Linked DNA regions of Homo sapiens: region 2 is linked to region 1. Evidence: promoter capture Hi-C in human tissues and cell types (Jung and others, 2019). All regions are on one chromosome and are shown on one strand. Each heading gives the region's core, a stretch centred on a gene start or on the middle of the fragment in contact. The rest is flanking DNA. Distances are from core to core; before and after follow the strand shown.

The links. The method cuts DNA at HindIII sites, captures the fragments that hold promoters and counts their contacts. A contact is called where the count stands out against the background at its distance.
Region 2: a contact is called between a fragment that was not itself captured here and the fragment with the promoter of LMAN1L in region 1, in 2 of the 25 tissues and cell types used here (dorsolateral prefrontal cortex and spleen).

What each region holds. Positions count from the first base shown.
Region 1 is chr15:74,809,692-74,817,414 of GRCh38, reverse strand. It overlaps LMAN1L (lectin, mannose binding 1 like), which reads right to left and starts at 4,580. Exons shown (of 14, transcript NM_021819.3): 1 at 4,386-4,580; 2 at 1,104-1,258; 3 at 881-988; 4 at 725-783. The coding sequence starts at 4,560. The HindIII fragment of the contact is 6,905 bases long and covers 1-6,689 here.
Region 2 is chr15:74,543,954-74,551,676 of GRCh38, reverse strand. ARID3B (AT-rich interaction domain 3B) reads right to left here. Exons shown (of 9, transcript NM_006465.4): 2 at 7,189-7,723. Among named protein-coding and RNA genes, the nearest start is that of ARID3B, 6.6 kb to the right of the region's middle. RefSeq lists enhancers at 5,103-5,412, 5,235-5,529 and a silencer at 5,113-5,655. The HindIII fragment of the contact is 3,774 bases long and covers 968-4,741 here.

The DNA.
Region 1 (7,723 bases), core at 3,331-5,830:
CTGGGTTTGTGCCCCGAGCTATGTGACCTTGGGCAAGCCATCTCATCTCTCCAAACCCCAGTGTTCCCATCTCTAAAACGAGGATGGTAATTGGAACGACCTCATAACAATGTTATGAGGGTTAACTAAGACAGTAAATGAGAAGGGCTTGGTGCTGTGCCTGGCATACAATCAGCTCACTCCATAAATGCAGGCAATTACTCTAATTGTTATGAGCCGAGAGAAGGTTGCTGAGAGACACTGACAAACCGGCCCAGCTACTGAGGAGGCAGTAGGGCCGGGGAGGGACAGAAGCCAAATCATCAGGGGAAAGGGAAGGGACAGCTATGCAGGGAAGGGCGAGGACCCTCCAGGGGTAAGTCTGGGCTCAAAGTTCAGCACTGCGCACGGCACATCCCTTCCCCTCTCTGGGCTCAATGTCCTGACCTGTAAATGGGACGAATAACCCCCCACTTATGGAGGGTGTTGGAGATGGGATGAGATCATGGGAGCAAAGATACTCATCACAGGCCCCAGCCTGTGTCATTTCACCTGGGGCTGCTGGGTCGAAGGAATCAAGCCCCAGGGGGGCGGACGTCGGCTAAGTGAGAGAGTCCAGCAAGTATGGCGGCCCGGCAGGGTGGGCCCCCTGCTGGAGGAGGCTGGGGCAGGGGCTCGGATGGGGGGGATGGGCCCCTCCCAGTGCAAAAATGGAGGTGAGTGGTCAGTCCAGACAGGCCCTTACCCAGGCTGCTCAGAGGGGATGTGCCCGTCGCTGGCCAGCACACGGATGGCAGGACTGTCCTGCAGGGAGGTGAGAAGCAGCCTGAGCCGCGGACATGGCGGGAGGGGGAGGGTGTGAGCGGGCAGGCGGGCTGGCAGGCAGGAGACCACTACGCACCTGAGTATCCTCTGCCGGAGAGTCAAAGAAGATCCCGATGCCGTCCCACGAAGCCAGCCCCCCAAGGACAGAGCCTACATGGCCCCTGCCCCGGGTGTACCACACGGCCTGCAGGTCCCCAGCCCCTCAGCTCAGGGAACCGTGTGGGATACTGGGACCCCGGGGCTCATCACCCGCCTCCCTGACCCACCCCGCTCTGTCAGCTCTGGGAGAGGACACTCACCATGCCCTGGGCTCCCCGGCGCCCCAGTCCCGTCACCCTCATCTGCACCTCTACTTCCCAGGCAGAGAAGGGGACAGAGGCCCTGCTCCACACGGCGCCACTCCGGTTCCTCATGGATGGCGTCAGCCGCACTTCCTCCAGGCCCAGGATGGCGTCTGTGGACAAGGGCAGCTCAAGCCCCAGGCTCCACTACACCCCATCTCCCCCTTCACTCTCTCACTTGGCCCGGGCTGGGCTCCCGGAAGAGAAGGCGACAATGCCAAGGCCTACCATTAAATAAGCGGCCAGCCAGGGAAGCAGGAGTCAGAGCCCAGCACAGCTGGAGGGGCCTTTGCTGGGGAGGGCAATGAATGCCAGCACCATCCACGTCGTCAGTGAAGCCTCACCGCAGTGTGTGCTGTCTGTTTTTATAAGACCCCATCTAACAGATGAGGAAGGTGAGGCTCATAAAAGTTAAGGAACTAAGTGGATTGGATGGAATTCAGCTCCATATGACTCCAAAGCACAAGCTTTTTCCACCACGAGAGAGATTTGTGTCTAACCCTTCCCATTTCTCAGATGACGAAACTGAGGCCTTGTGACAAAAAAGGAAGTGCCTGAGACCACAGAACACAGGAGAGCACTTTAGGAGGGAGTAACTGCAAGAAGGCCCAAGACTCTAGGCTGTGGCCAAATGAGGCCAGAGCTTCCTGGTGGACAGGACCTAGGGGGCATTCCAAGGTGAGGAAAGCAGGAAAGCAAAGATGTGAAGGTGAGAACCGGCCCACAGGACTGCGATGAAAGAATGCAGGATGGAGTATGTGTGTGAGAATTGCCACTGGCGGTGGTGGGGCGGGGAGGAAGGAGCCCTGCATGGTAGGAAAAAGGAATGGGAGAGAAACTGAGGCAGTCTTGGCAGGAACTGGGGGCAGGGAACTCAGAGGCCCTACTCGAGCTCGCTCCCCACCCTCCAACCTGCCAGCCTGGAACCTGGCCCAGGGCCCAGACTCTGCCAGGACGTTCTGGAGGCAGCTAATCCAGCCTGTTTGCTCTATAAAGGCCAGGGATGGGGGTAGGGAGGCTCAGAGCTGCAAGGCCACAAGTCCCAGGGCCTCTGGAAGCTGTCACTGCCTCTGAAATCCTTGCAGAAGGCTTTCAGCCTTACAAGGCCTGTGGGTGAGACCTTGCCCCAGACCATGGGCTCCTTCAGCCTCACTCTGCCTGGTATCTCTGGGCTGGGCACAGAGGAACATCAGGGTGAACGAATGAATGAACAGACAATGCACACATCACTGGGTGATCTTGGAGAAGGTGCCTCTGCTCCCTCACATGATCTGTGACACCCAGATTTGGCAAGGCCCATAGCAGTGAGTGTTGTATAAGTTTTGCCATCCTGGTCCTGAAGCAGGGCCCAGCTTGGTGCTGTGAGAAACAGCCCACCTTTTTGTTACCTCCTGTGTCTCTATGAAGGAGGACTGGAAGAAACCCTACTGACAGGGCCTATCATCTTAAAGGAATATTTTGGGCTGGGCGCGGTGGCTCATGCCTATAATCCCAGCACTTTGGGAAGCCGAGGCAGGCGGATCATCTGAGGTCAGTAGTTCAAGACCAGCCTGGCCAACATGGTGACAACCCGTCTCTACTTAAAAAATACAAAAATTAGGCTGGGCGCGGTGGCTCGCCTGTAATCCCAGCACTTTGGGAGGCCAAGGCGGGCGGATCACGAGGTCAGGAGATCGAAACCATCCTGGCTAACAAGGTGAAACCCCATCTCTACTAAAAGTACAAAAAATTAGCTGGGGGTGGTGGCAGGCACCTGTAGTCCCAGCTACTCGGGAGACTGAGGCAGGAGAATGGCATGAACCCAGGAGGTGGAGCTTGCAGTGAGCCGAGATCACGCCACTGCACTCCAGCCTGGGCAACAGAACGAGACTCCGTCTCAAAAAAAAAAAAACAAAAACAAAAACAAAAATTAGCTGCGTGTGGTGGCACACACCTGTAATCCCAGCTACTCAGGAGGCTGAGGCAGGAGAATCACTTGAATCTGGGAGGTGAAGGTTGCAGTGAGCCAAGATCACACCACTGCACTCCAGCCTGGGCAACAAGAGTGAAACTCCATCTCACAAAAAAAAAAGGGATATTTTGTCCTGGCTTTAGTTAGGAATCGTGCCATTTCTCAGAACTCACATCTTTTTTTTTTTTTTTTTTGAGCCAGAGTCTGGCTCTGTGCCCAGGCTGAAGTGCAATGGCAGGATCTCAGCTCACTGCAACCTTGGCCTCCCAGGTTCAAGCAATTCTCCTGCCTCAGCCTCCTGAGGAGCTGGGACTACAGGCGCACGCCACCACACCCAGCTAATTTTTGTATTTTTAGTAGAGTCAGGGTTTCACCATTTTGGCCAGGATGGTTTTCAACCTCTTGACCTCGTGATTCATCCGCCTTGGCCTCCCAAAGTGCTGGGATTACAGGCGTGAGCCACTGCACCTGGCCAAGAACTCACATTTTATAGACAGAAATCCACAGCCGATCTGCTTTCTGTCTTTGCTTTGCCTGCTAAGAGGCTCAGAATTAAATCCATGGCCCAACTCTCAGGTGGACAGACCTCACAGCATATGTTTTGGAAGCCATGCTCCTAGACTATTTCACGCTCCACTCTAATCCTCATTGTTCTTGCTCACTCCCTCTATCGTGTAGTTCCATCATCACAAACCCTTTTTTGAACAAGATCTGGTAGAAGACACACTCTTTGTAGGTCTGGGTTTGGAAGTCCCTGAATACAAACCTATGGGCTAAGATGCTCTCATGCCTGCTTCCACCCACAACACACATACAGGGAAGGGCTGGTGCCCACTCACCTGGGATGAGGATGCTTCCCTCCAGGTAGCCCCCAGTTCTCATGGCCAGCCACAGGCCCGCTGGGATGGAGCCGGGAGAGTGGAGGTTTGTGCTGGTCCACATTGCCTTCTGTGTGCCTGGGACTTAGTGTGTGAGCATGTGTCTGTGTGTTCACAGGTCAGAGGTAGAGGAAGGGCAGGGGTCCAAGGAGAGGCAGAGGAGAAGAGAGAAGTCCTGGGGCAGGGAAGCAGAGAGGCAGAGGAGAAACAGCTTGGGCAGGGGTGGGGGGTGTTGAGGCGGTGGAGCAGGAGACAAGCCTGGAAGGGGTCCTGGGGTGCCTGGCACTGTCCCAGGCCTTGCCCCACCCTGGACAGAGGATGGCTGTGACAGACCCACTCCCCACCAAGTCACAGCCCCTCCAGCACTTTGAGGGACCCTGGGCATAGCTGGTCCCCACCCCTGCCCCTCACCTCCATGATGGCTCCAGAAGGGTATTCCAGCCCCAGGCAATGCCAGCCTTGGGCCTTTGAAGCTGAGCTTGTACTCAAACCTGCGTAGAGGAGGACACCCCGTCTCAGGGCTGTGGGGGTCCAGGAGCAGGAGGAGAAGGCAGAATAAGGGACCTGGACCACTGACCGCCGGCATCGTGAAGGCGCCTGAAGTCTGGGCCCCGGGGTAGATCATAGCTGGGAGGCCGGGGAGGGGATCCTGGGATAGGGCCAGGCAGGGAGGAGCTGGGGACTGGCCAGGAGCTGGGTTTTGGCACTGTCCTCTCCCTCTATCTCCAGCATAGACATCCTGTTCCTTCCAGGCCTGCTGTCAGGCCCCGCCCATCCCTCACCTCCAGTCTGACGTGGGCAGCGGGACCCCACGACAACCTGAGCTCTGCCCCTGCTCCTGACTCAGGCCATCTTTCTGTCTCCCATCACTTCCAGCAGTTGGATGCGGCAGAGGGGAAGGGGGGGTGCCCAGGGTTGGCCCCCACCCTTCAGCAGCCCTGGCCTCCCCTCCCAGTTAGGGAGACAGGCCTCCACATTCTGCCTGTGTCCCCCAGCATGGATGGCACATCTATCTGGACACCCATCCTTCTCTCCTCCCTGCCCCCTCTCTCCCTCTCCCGAATTCCCCCAGGCTCATCCTTCCAAGCAGCCTGGTTTCCTCAACAAAAGCATTACATGGAAAAAAGAAGGGAGTCTTTAGAGACAGCACAAAAACGCAACGTGCAGACCTTGTTTGGAGCCAAATTTTAACCCAACTGCAAAAAAAAAAAAAGATATTGGGGAAATTTGAACAATGGATATTTTTGAACAATGGATATTTGACTATATTGAGGAATTGTTAAAAATTTTAGGGCACTGTGGCTCATGTCTGTAATCTTAGCACTTTGGGAGCCCAAGGCAGGTGGATCACCTGAGGTCAGGAGTTCGAGACCAGCCTGGCCAACATTGTGAAACTCTGTCTCTACTAAAAAAAAATACAAAAAATTAGCCAGGCCTGGTGGTGCATGCCTGTAATCCCAGCTACTTGGGAGGCTGAGGCAGGAGAATCACTTGAACCTGGGAGGCAGAGATTGTAGTGAGCGGAGATTGCACCATTGCACTCCAGCCTGGGTGATAAGAGCAAAAATCCATTTCGAAAAAAAAAATTGAGAACTAATATGGTATTGTGGTTATGTTTTTTATTTTTTATTTTATTTTATTTATTTATTTTTTGAGACGGAGTCTCGCTCTATCGCCCGGGCTGGAGTGCAGTGGCGCGATCTTGGCTCACTGCAAGCTCTGCCTCCCGGGTTCACACCATTCTTCTGCCTCAGCCTCCCAAGTAGCTGGGACTACAGGTGCCCGCCACCATGCCTGGCTAATTTTTTGTATTTTTTAGTAGAGATGGGATTTCACCGTGTTAACCAGGGTGGTCTCGATCTTCTGACCTCGTGATCCGCCTGACTTGGCCTCCCAAAGTGTTGGGATTACAGGCGTGAGCCACTGCGCCTGGCCTTTTTTTTTTTTTTTGAGAGGTGGTGTCTTCCTATGTTACCAAGGATGGACTCAAACTTCTGGGCTCAAAGGATCCTCCTGCCTCCTGAATAGCTGGAAATAAAGGCATGAGCCACCACGCCTGGCTTGTGGTTATGTTTTTAAAGTGTCTTTTGGAGAAACATACAAAAGCTTTACAGATGAATTGCTGTAACATCGGGGATTTGCTTCAAAATATTCCAGGGCTTGTTGGTGAGCAGGTGGGGTAGAGATGAGACAGAATTGACCTTGAGTTGGTAAGTGCTGAAGCTGGATGGCGGGATGCAGGGGTTCCTTATATCTTCTACTTTTATTATTTTTTGAAACAGGGTCTCACTGTCACCCAGACTGAAGTGCAATGGCAGGATTGTAGAGGAGCTGGGACTACAGGCACACACTACCGTGCCTTGCTAGCTAATTTTTTTTTTTTTTTTTTTTTGAGACGAAGTCTCACTCTGTCACCCAGGCTGGAGTGCAGTGGCGGGATCTCGGTTGACTGCAACCTCCTCCTCTCAGGTTCAAGCGATTCTCCTGCCTCAGCCTCCTGAGTAGCTGGGATTACAGGCACCCACCAACCCACCACCATGCCCGGCTAATTTTTGTATTTTTTTTTTTTTTTTTTGAGATGGAGTCTCCCTCTGTTGCCCAGGCTGGAGTGCAGTGGCACAGTCTCCGCTCACTGCAAGCTCTGCCCCCACCGGGTTCATGCCATTCTCCTGCCTCAGCCTCCAGAGTAGCCGGGACTACTAGGCGCCTGCCACCACGCCCAGCTAATTTTTTTGTATTTTTAGTAGAGACAGCATTTCACAGTGTTTGCCAGGTTGGTCTTGATCTCCTGACCTCGTGATCCACCCGCCTCAGCCACCCAAAGTGCTGGGATTACAGGTGTGAGCCACCGCGCCTGGCCAATTTTTGTATTTTTAGTAGAGACAGGGTTTCACCATTTTGGATCAGGCTGGTCTCGAACTCCTCACCTCAGGTGATCCGTCCACCTCAGCCTCTCAAAGTGCTGGGATTACAGGCATGAGCCACAGCGCCCAGCCCCCAGCTAATTTTTTAATTTTTATTTTTGTAGAGATGGGGGTCTTGTTTTGTTGCCCAGGCTGGTCTTGAACCCCTGGCTTCAAGTGATCCTTCTGCCTTGGCTTCCCAAAGTGCTGGGATTACAGGTGTGAGCCACAACACTGGCCTATTTTTATATATTTGAAAATTTTCATTAAAAATTTTTTTTAGAAAGAAAGAAATCCTATATTTCAAATATTTTCATCCAAATAAAAGTTGGTTTTCCAGAATGACTCATTTGCCAAGAATCCTGGATAGCTGAAATTTTACTGTGCTTTGGAGGTTCCCAATAGGAGTCAGTGACTGAAGCTTTACAAATGGATTAAAATCAAAGTTGTACATGTGAAATGTTAGAACATGCTATGAGAAATCATTTCACAGGCCAGGTGCAGTGGCTTACACCTGTAATCCCAGCACTTCGGGAGGCCGAGGTAGGCGGATCACCTGAGGTTGGGAGTTCAAGACCAGCCTGACCAACATGGTGAAACCCCATCTCTACTAAAAATACAAAATTAGCCAGGCGTGTAATCTGAGCTACTCAAGAGGCTGAGGCAGGAGAATCGCTTGAACCCAGGAGGCAGAGGTTGCAGTGAGCCAAGATCGCGCCATTGCACTCCAGCCTGGGCGACAAGAGTGAATCTCTGTCTCAAAAAAAAAAAAAAAAAAGCATTTTGCAACACCAAGCCCTCACCTGCCTCCATCTGCTCCTCCTCCCTTCACAGCCACACTGGTGG
Region 2 (7,723 bases), core at 1,605-4,104, 260 kb after region 1:
AAATTTAAGATTAAAGGTTTTTGTTGTTGTTTGCTTGTTTTTAAGTCTGACAGAGAGAAGATGCGTAAACGTGGAAAAGGCCTGGAAGAGAATGAGCCCAAAGAGTCAGGAAATGGAGGGTTCACTGATGGAGCAAGTCCCTGGAAACCTGGAAGGGGATGGGATCTGGGACACATGTAGAGAAATTAGCCTCTGGTGAGAGGGTAAGGACCCAAGTCAAGTCAGTGATTGTGTATTTATAAGGACTTAGTATCTATAAAGCTTACTTCTACCTAAAGAACAATACACACATATCCCTATGCTAATACGGAAAGATACAGCTTCAGAAGCGCCATGGTTTAAGCTCACATAATCCTGAAAGGTTTCAGAGAACTTCAGAACACCAGAGTGTGGTCAGGGCTCTAGAAAACCTGAAAAGGAGTTGTTTTAGAGTAGTGGGTAGGATTTATGGAGCATCTTATCTACAAAGGTCATAAAGACTGAAAAATTATGATTGACCCTTCAACGTGGATTTGAACTGCCTGGGTCCACTTATATGTAAACTATTTTCAACCCAACTTGGATCAAAGACAAAATTTACGAGATGTGAAACCCATGTATATGGAAGACTGACTTTTAATATATGTGGGTTCCACAGAGCTGACTGCAGGACTTGAGTATGCTCAAATTTTGGTATATGTGGGGGTCTTGGAACCAATCCCCTGCATGTGAGGGACGACGGTAGCTTCAAAAAGGACTTAGGTGTTGATGACAATTCGCCCTAACCCTGCAAAGCTCTTTCACACTCATATTTTTCTTCTACCTTTGTAATATCCTTAAAATCACTTCCTGAGGATAGCGGGAGAGGATTATCATCCTCTGGAATAGATTGATGCATGGGTTCAGAGAGGCAGATTAGAACGCTTGTCCAAAGTACTAGAGCAAGCAAGCAGTGGAAGCAGGGTCTTTTTTCTTTTCCTTTTTTTTTTTTGAGATGGACACTCACTCTGTCACCCAGGCTGGAGTGCAGTGGTGTGATCTCAGCTTACTGCAAGTTCTGCCTCCCGGGTTCATGCCACTCTCCTGCCTCAGCCTCCGGAGTAGCTTGGGACCGCAGGCGCCTGCCACCACGCCCAGCTAACTTTTTTTTTTTTTGTATTTTTAGTAGAGACGGAGATGATGTTTCACTGTGTTAGTCAAGATGGTCTTGATCTCCTGACCTCGTGATCCGCCTGCCTCCGCCTCCCAAAGTGCTGGGATTACAGGTGTGAGCCACTGCGCCTGGCGGGAAGTAGGGTCTTAATCCACATCCTCTGGCTCCAAAACCAATGCTGATTTAATAATTAAATCTGTTACTAGGTAACAAGTCTGCCAAGTATTTACACTTTAACCTTTTGGGGTTAATGTCTACAAGGGCAACCAAGCTCTCTCATATATCACCAAAGATATCAAAGATATCATGGAGTGCTGGGCTGAAAGAATCACTGATAGAGTCAAGTAAGAGATCTCAAGTTCTAGGCCCCAAACCTTTCCCAAGTGACAGTCTGTTCACCTAGATGACTAGAGGAAAGACATGAGCTCGGTACAGATATTGAAAGCAGAAGTCAAGAAAATTCAAGGCTGCCAAACTCCTCAGTTACTGAGACTGAAACACAAAGGAAAAGAGTCTCTGGTGCTGTCTGATGATAGCGAAGCTTATGTTCTTTCTGGTTGCACAATCTAGAGCACGGTTTCTCAACCTTGGCACTACTGTTATTTTGGACCAGATAACTCTTTGCTGTTGGGGGGCTGTCCAGTGCGTTATAGGATGTTTAGCAGCATCCCTGGTCTACCCACTAGACGCCCATAGCACACTGCCCCCTACTCCAGTCATGGCAATCAAAAATGTCTCCTGACACTGCCAAATGTCCCCTGGGAAGGGGCAGGGGTCACCTCTAATTGAGAACCACTCAACTAGATGGATTCCATTGTGACTGCAGAAGGCAAGGGCATGCAAGGTAGCTCTATAAAGAACATGAGGAAAGCCTACGAACATTTTCTTTTTTGGGCAATACTTTGCACAGTTTTTTAAAAAAGCCTCAAATGTTCCATAGTCATGCTGTATCTTTTCTTTTTCCCTTTTTTTTTTTTTTTACACCATCTCACTCTGTCATCCAAACTGGAGTGCAAGTGGCATGATATCGACTCACTGCAACCTTCGCCTCCCAGGTTCAAGTGATTTTCCTGCCTCAGCCTGCCGAAGTAGTTGGGACTACAGGCGTGTGCCACCACACCCAGCTAATGATAGTCATGCAGTATCTACCAAGAAAAGTAGGCCTATCCCGGCCGGGCGCAGTGGCTCACGCCTGTAATCCCAGCACTTTGGGAGGCCGAGGCGGACGGATCACGAGGTCAGGAGATCGAGACCATCCTGGCTAACACGGTGAAACCCCGTCTCTACTAAAAATACAAAAAAATTAGCCGGGCGTGGTGGCGGGCACCTGTAGTCCCAGCTACTCAGGAGGCTGAGGCAGGAGAATGGCGTGAACCCCGGGGGGTGGAGCCTGCAGTGAGCCGAGATCATGCCACTGCACTCTAGCCTGAGTGACAGCGAGACACCGTCTAAAAAAAAAGAAAAAAAAAGAAAGAAAAGTAGGCCTATCCCAAGGGACTACACCTTAATTAGAGGGATGGCTTCTGGACACCAGTCAGTCAGTCATGGCATTAGAAGAAATGGACAGTAGTCTCCACTAATTGCCCAGCAGGAAGTCGACTCTCACGGTAAGATGAGATTGATTTTGCTCATGGTTAAGAATAGGCAAAAAAAACCCCAAAAAAACAAAAACAAACACGAAACTCCCTCTTCTCAAATCACATTCCCTTTGTCTCTCCCAGTGCCCATCTAACATGGCAATTCTTCCCATTTGTCATGGAGCTTCCTTTGCTTCTGTACTGCAGAAGTGCTTCTCCAACAAATTCAGAGAGAACCCACGCTGTCATGAGCTGAGGGTGCCCCAAGCGGCTTGGAGGTGTTTGAAATTGGTAATACCCTGTCCTTGTTAACACATGTGATTAGCAAGCTTTAGGACGTTAGGAATTCTTTAATTGCAAATATTCTGAAATTAAACCCTTCCATCCTAGAAGGCAGTCACAAAACAAAATCTTGTAAAACATGCTAGAAGGGGAAGGGTAGAGGAGGGGGCCAACATTTATTGTGCAATGGCTCCCAGTGCTTTCAACTGAATTGGCTGTGAAAGTATGTTAAGCCCGTGGTTGGATCACAGCCACATGCAGTAACCAAAGCGACTGCCAAAGTATGCAGAAAATCGGACACATGCACCCTGGCCCCACATGCCTGCCAAGCCATCTTTCTTCTTTCTATTCTATCGAAGGGGGTCTACACCCTTCTAGTAACCTAGCTCTACCAATGGGCTCAAGACAGACCCAGCCTGTACTGCTTGAACCACCTTCTACCAGAGGGGGAGAACACCACCCCCAAAAGGCCAGCAACATCCCCTAGTTGGCTGTATGATCTCCTTTGAGAAAAGGAACACTCAGTTCTTTGTCTGTTTTCTTGTTTTACAATTATTTACTCTGCCCATAGGAATCTGATGGGTTTTAGAACACTTGGCTCAATGGCGTTATCCATCTTCCCATCACTGTGGTGTCAGAGAATAATACCACACCTTAACAATCCAGGCCTTGAGAAGCAAATATTTTCTAAGAGTTTCTTCAAAGAGAATCCACGAAATAATTTTGACTTTACATGTTCTAAGTAAGGGATTTCAGATGCAAAGAATAATCTCTGGAACCCTTAAGCTTTCCCAGTTTCACTTTTCAGTTAGCAGATGCCTGTCCTCCCTTACCCCAAAATCTTGCAAAATACTTCTGAGTATTCCTGTTGGTTTGCCAAGCTATGCTATGCTGTAGACAAAATTAACTTTTTAAACTTTGGCATGTGAATGTTTGAAACAAAACTCTGTTTTAAAATATCTCTGCCATAGCAGACTGGGTGGCTGGGCTCCAGTAGACTCAGGACAGAATCAAATTATTGTAACCCAAGTTCGAATCCCCCTTGAGGTTCCCACACTGCCACCGCTAGACCTGAACTCCCTGAGAGAGAAACATGCCTTGTTTCATACAGCACAGGTCTGGCACAAAGAAGCCTCTGTAAAAGTTTGTTGTTCAAAAGAACAAGATGGACACTGTATCACATTAACAATAAGATCTGTGTCAGGGTAGGCGCGGTGGCTCACGCCTGTAATCCCAGCACTTTGGGAGGCCAGGACGGGCGGATCACTTGAGGTCAGGAGTTTGAGACCAGCCTGGCCAACATGACGAAACCCTGTCTCTACTAAAAATACAAAAAAATAAATAAAAATAAAAAAATAAATTAGCCAGGCATGGTAGCATATGCCTGTAATCTCAGCTGCTAGGGAGGGTGAGGCACGAAAATCACTTGAACTCAGGAGGCGGAGGTTGCAGGAAGCCGAGATCGCGCCACTGCACTCCAGCCTGGGCAACAGAGTGCGCTCTGTGTCGGCGGGGGAGGGGGAAGGCGGGGGGGAAAGATCTGTGTCAATTGTAAAGGTCTTTGTAATTGTTGCTGGAGCAAGGGATATTCTATTTTTGCACTCCATTAAGTTTCATAAAGTAAAGATTTTGAACAACAAAACAAGCTAGTCTAATGATCTGTAATGGTTTCTATAGGCTCTCCCCAAGAATATTATTATTTTTGGCCCTTCTAAAATATACTAAAAAAAAAGTTTTAAAATCCCCAAGCATATGATTTACTCCTTTAAAATCAGGATTTATAGAAAAGGAGAGCACAGATCAAATCAATGTTAAAAATTAAAGGGGAAAAGGACGTGCACATCTGACGGTTTAAGTCATTGCTACCCAAAGCCCCCCAGTTCAGTTCTTGATCTCCAAATCCTGGGGGAAGGTAAATTTTGGGTGAGGGATTATACCTCAGCTACTGTGGTATTTATAAAACATTTTGGCAGGTGCTCTGCCAAGCAGTCTATAATTAGTGAATATGCCTCAGAAACATAAAGTGAACGCAAAGAGTTTCAAATGCCAACAGCCAGCCCCCTGAATACTGAGCTACGTAGTCATAGGGCTGCCACCATCTAGATAACATGATGCTGGGTGCCCTGCCACGGTGCACACGTGTGCACATGCACACGCCAGTTCTGAAGAGTCTTTTTTTAAACCTCTAATGGCTTGACCTCAACACCTGCTACACTTCCTGAAGACAGACAGGCTCTGGAGCTCCACTTGTTCCTCGCATGCGGCTGCACTTTCTAGGAACGACCGCACACACGCAGACGCTGGCCAGCTGCCAAGGCGGGGGCAGCCCAGCCGCCTCGGGCCTGAACTTTCCCAGCGCTGTCAGGGCAGGATCCTGCTATGAGCTGACTCAGCGGCCGGTATGGAACTCTGCCAACCACACAGCAGTGCGGGGGCAGCCGGCAACTCACAGATGTTTTGCTAAACCAAAGCAATCAGTGGGAGGCGGGTCTGGGCTGGCGGCCAGGGTGCTGCTGTCGTGGAAGTTGGGATTCTCTGATTCTAGTCCTAGCTCTGCCACTATCTCCCTGGGTGATGAGTGAAAACCTCTGTGTATCTCAGTACATCTCCCACTTCAGAGGCATGTCTATGTGATGCAGGAGAGGATGGCACTGTTTACATAAAAGAGCTCCCCCGGGCACTATTACCTACCATGTGCCTGGCACTGGACAAGCTTTCACATGTGCTAGCTCGGTTAATCCTTACAACATCCATGGGAGGCAGTGGCACTCTTTTTATTTCACAGATGAGAAGACACAGGCTCAGAGCAAATCAGAGCCCTACTAAAAGATCACAAGGGCAATATTTGGAAGTGATGGGATTTGAATCCCACTGCTGGCTGCAAACACTATTGTTGTAAAACTCAGATCTACTGTACAGACCTCCTGATCCAAGATGTTTGATTTTTTGGGTTCCAAAGGACCTTTCTTATATGACTTCTCAGTTGCCCTGTGAAAACCCACAGCTTTTCACAAATGATTTCTAAACAGTACCACTGGATCACAAGAAGTGTGTGTGCTTCTGCAGGGTACCCATGAACTCCCTTACTAAGCACCAACAAGTCACTTAAGCTGGAACAACTTATCATCACTCCCATCCTTTGGGCGAGGAAAAACTATATTATGGGTCACAAAGAGAAGAGGCTTGGTTGAAAACAAAGATTCCCTAGGCTCCACCCTCCAAGATAATTCATTAGGACTCAGCAATCTGTATTTTTTAAAAAGCTCCCTAACTGACTCTGATACTCAGCCATTTGGAAGTCACTTCAGCTTTCCTTGACTAAAAAGGAAATTTTGAGGTCTACCCTTCCCTGTTGTCAAGGGGATGATGTAAGAGTGAAATGAAATCATGTCTACAAGGCTCTTTGTTGGAAAATATATACAATGCAAGTGCTTCTTGTCAGCTGTGTTTAGCTCCAAAACAACCAACTGTCCTTAAAGAGGGTTAGCCTGGAGCTAAGAAACTGTCTTAGGCAAGAACTTTCTTTTACATTACTGTTAGAAACATTATTATTAGAAAAGCTGTAATTAGTCACACATCTCATTTTAGATATTCCTCACAACACTGTTGCAACTTCATCCTTCCTTTAAAAAAGAAGATTGTATTGACATTCTTTCACATCAAACTTGGCAAAACCTATATTAAGAGTAACATACAGGCCAGGGGCGGTGGCTCATGCCTGTAATCCCAACATTTTGGGAGGCCGAGGCAGGCAGATCACGGGGTCAGGAGATCGAGACCATCTTGGCTAACACGGTGAAACCCCGTCTCTGCTAAAAATGCAAAAAATAAGCCAGGCATAGTGGCACGCGCCTATAGTCCCAGCTACTCAGGAGACTGAGGCAGGAGAATCGCTTGAACCTGGGAGATGGAGGTTGCAGTGAGCCGAGATCATGCCACTGCACTCCAGCTTGGGTGACAGAGTGAGACTCCATGTCAAAAAAAAAAAAAAAAAAAGAGTAACATATATTTCATTGCTTTAATGAAGAAAATAAATATTAAATAAGAAAAAAATCCAAAGTCTATTCATGTCTAGGCTGTTGGTCACCGAAGTGGGGTGAGAAGGCACAGACTGGCACAGCCCCTGACCCTGTCAGTCCATGACCCCTCTCTGGCCTTCAGGAAGACCAAATGACCTACAATACCAGAAAGACTGACCTGCTTGAGCTGCTCATCCAGATTCCAGTTCGGCTGTCCTGCTGTGGAGACAGAAGGTGAGGCCTTGGAAGCATCTTTGGTATGGTCTTCTTTAGCTTGTTGTCCATGTGGTGGGAGCCCTGGTGCTGGAAGTAGATTGGACATGGGTGCCACTCTGGGATCTTGGCGAGCTACTTTCTGCACATGAAAATATTTTGAAGCAGCCTGGGTTTCTTTCTCAGCCACCTCTGCAACTTCATCATCCCCATCCTCATCTTCCAAACCTCCGTCCTCTTCCTCAGGCTCTGAGTTCATGTTGCCCCGTTCAAACACTTGGGCCACTGCTGCGGTGGGTGGAACTCTGGCTAAGGGACCTAAGGGAGTGCTGCCAGAAGGTCTCCCAGCTGTGGCGGAAAGGAGAGTCGGCTGTGTGACCAGCTTTTGGGCATACAAGAACTGGGCTTCTCTCATCTGCTGGCCCTGCTTCTCTCTGGCATCCATCTGCAGAGGAGCCAGGTGTGGCTGCTTCTGTTGTTGCTGCTGCTGCTGCTGCTGC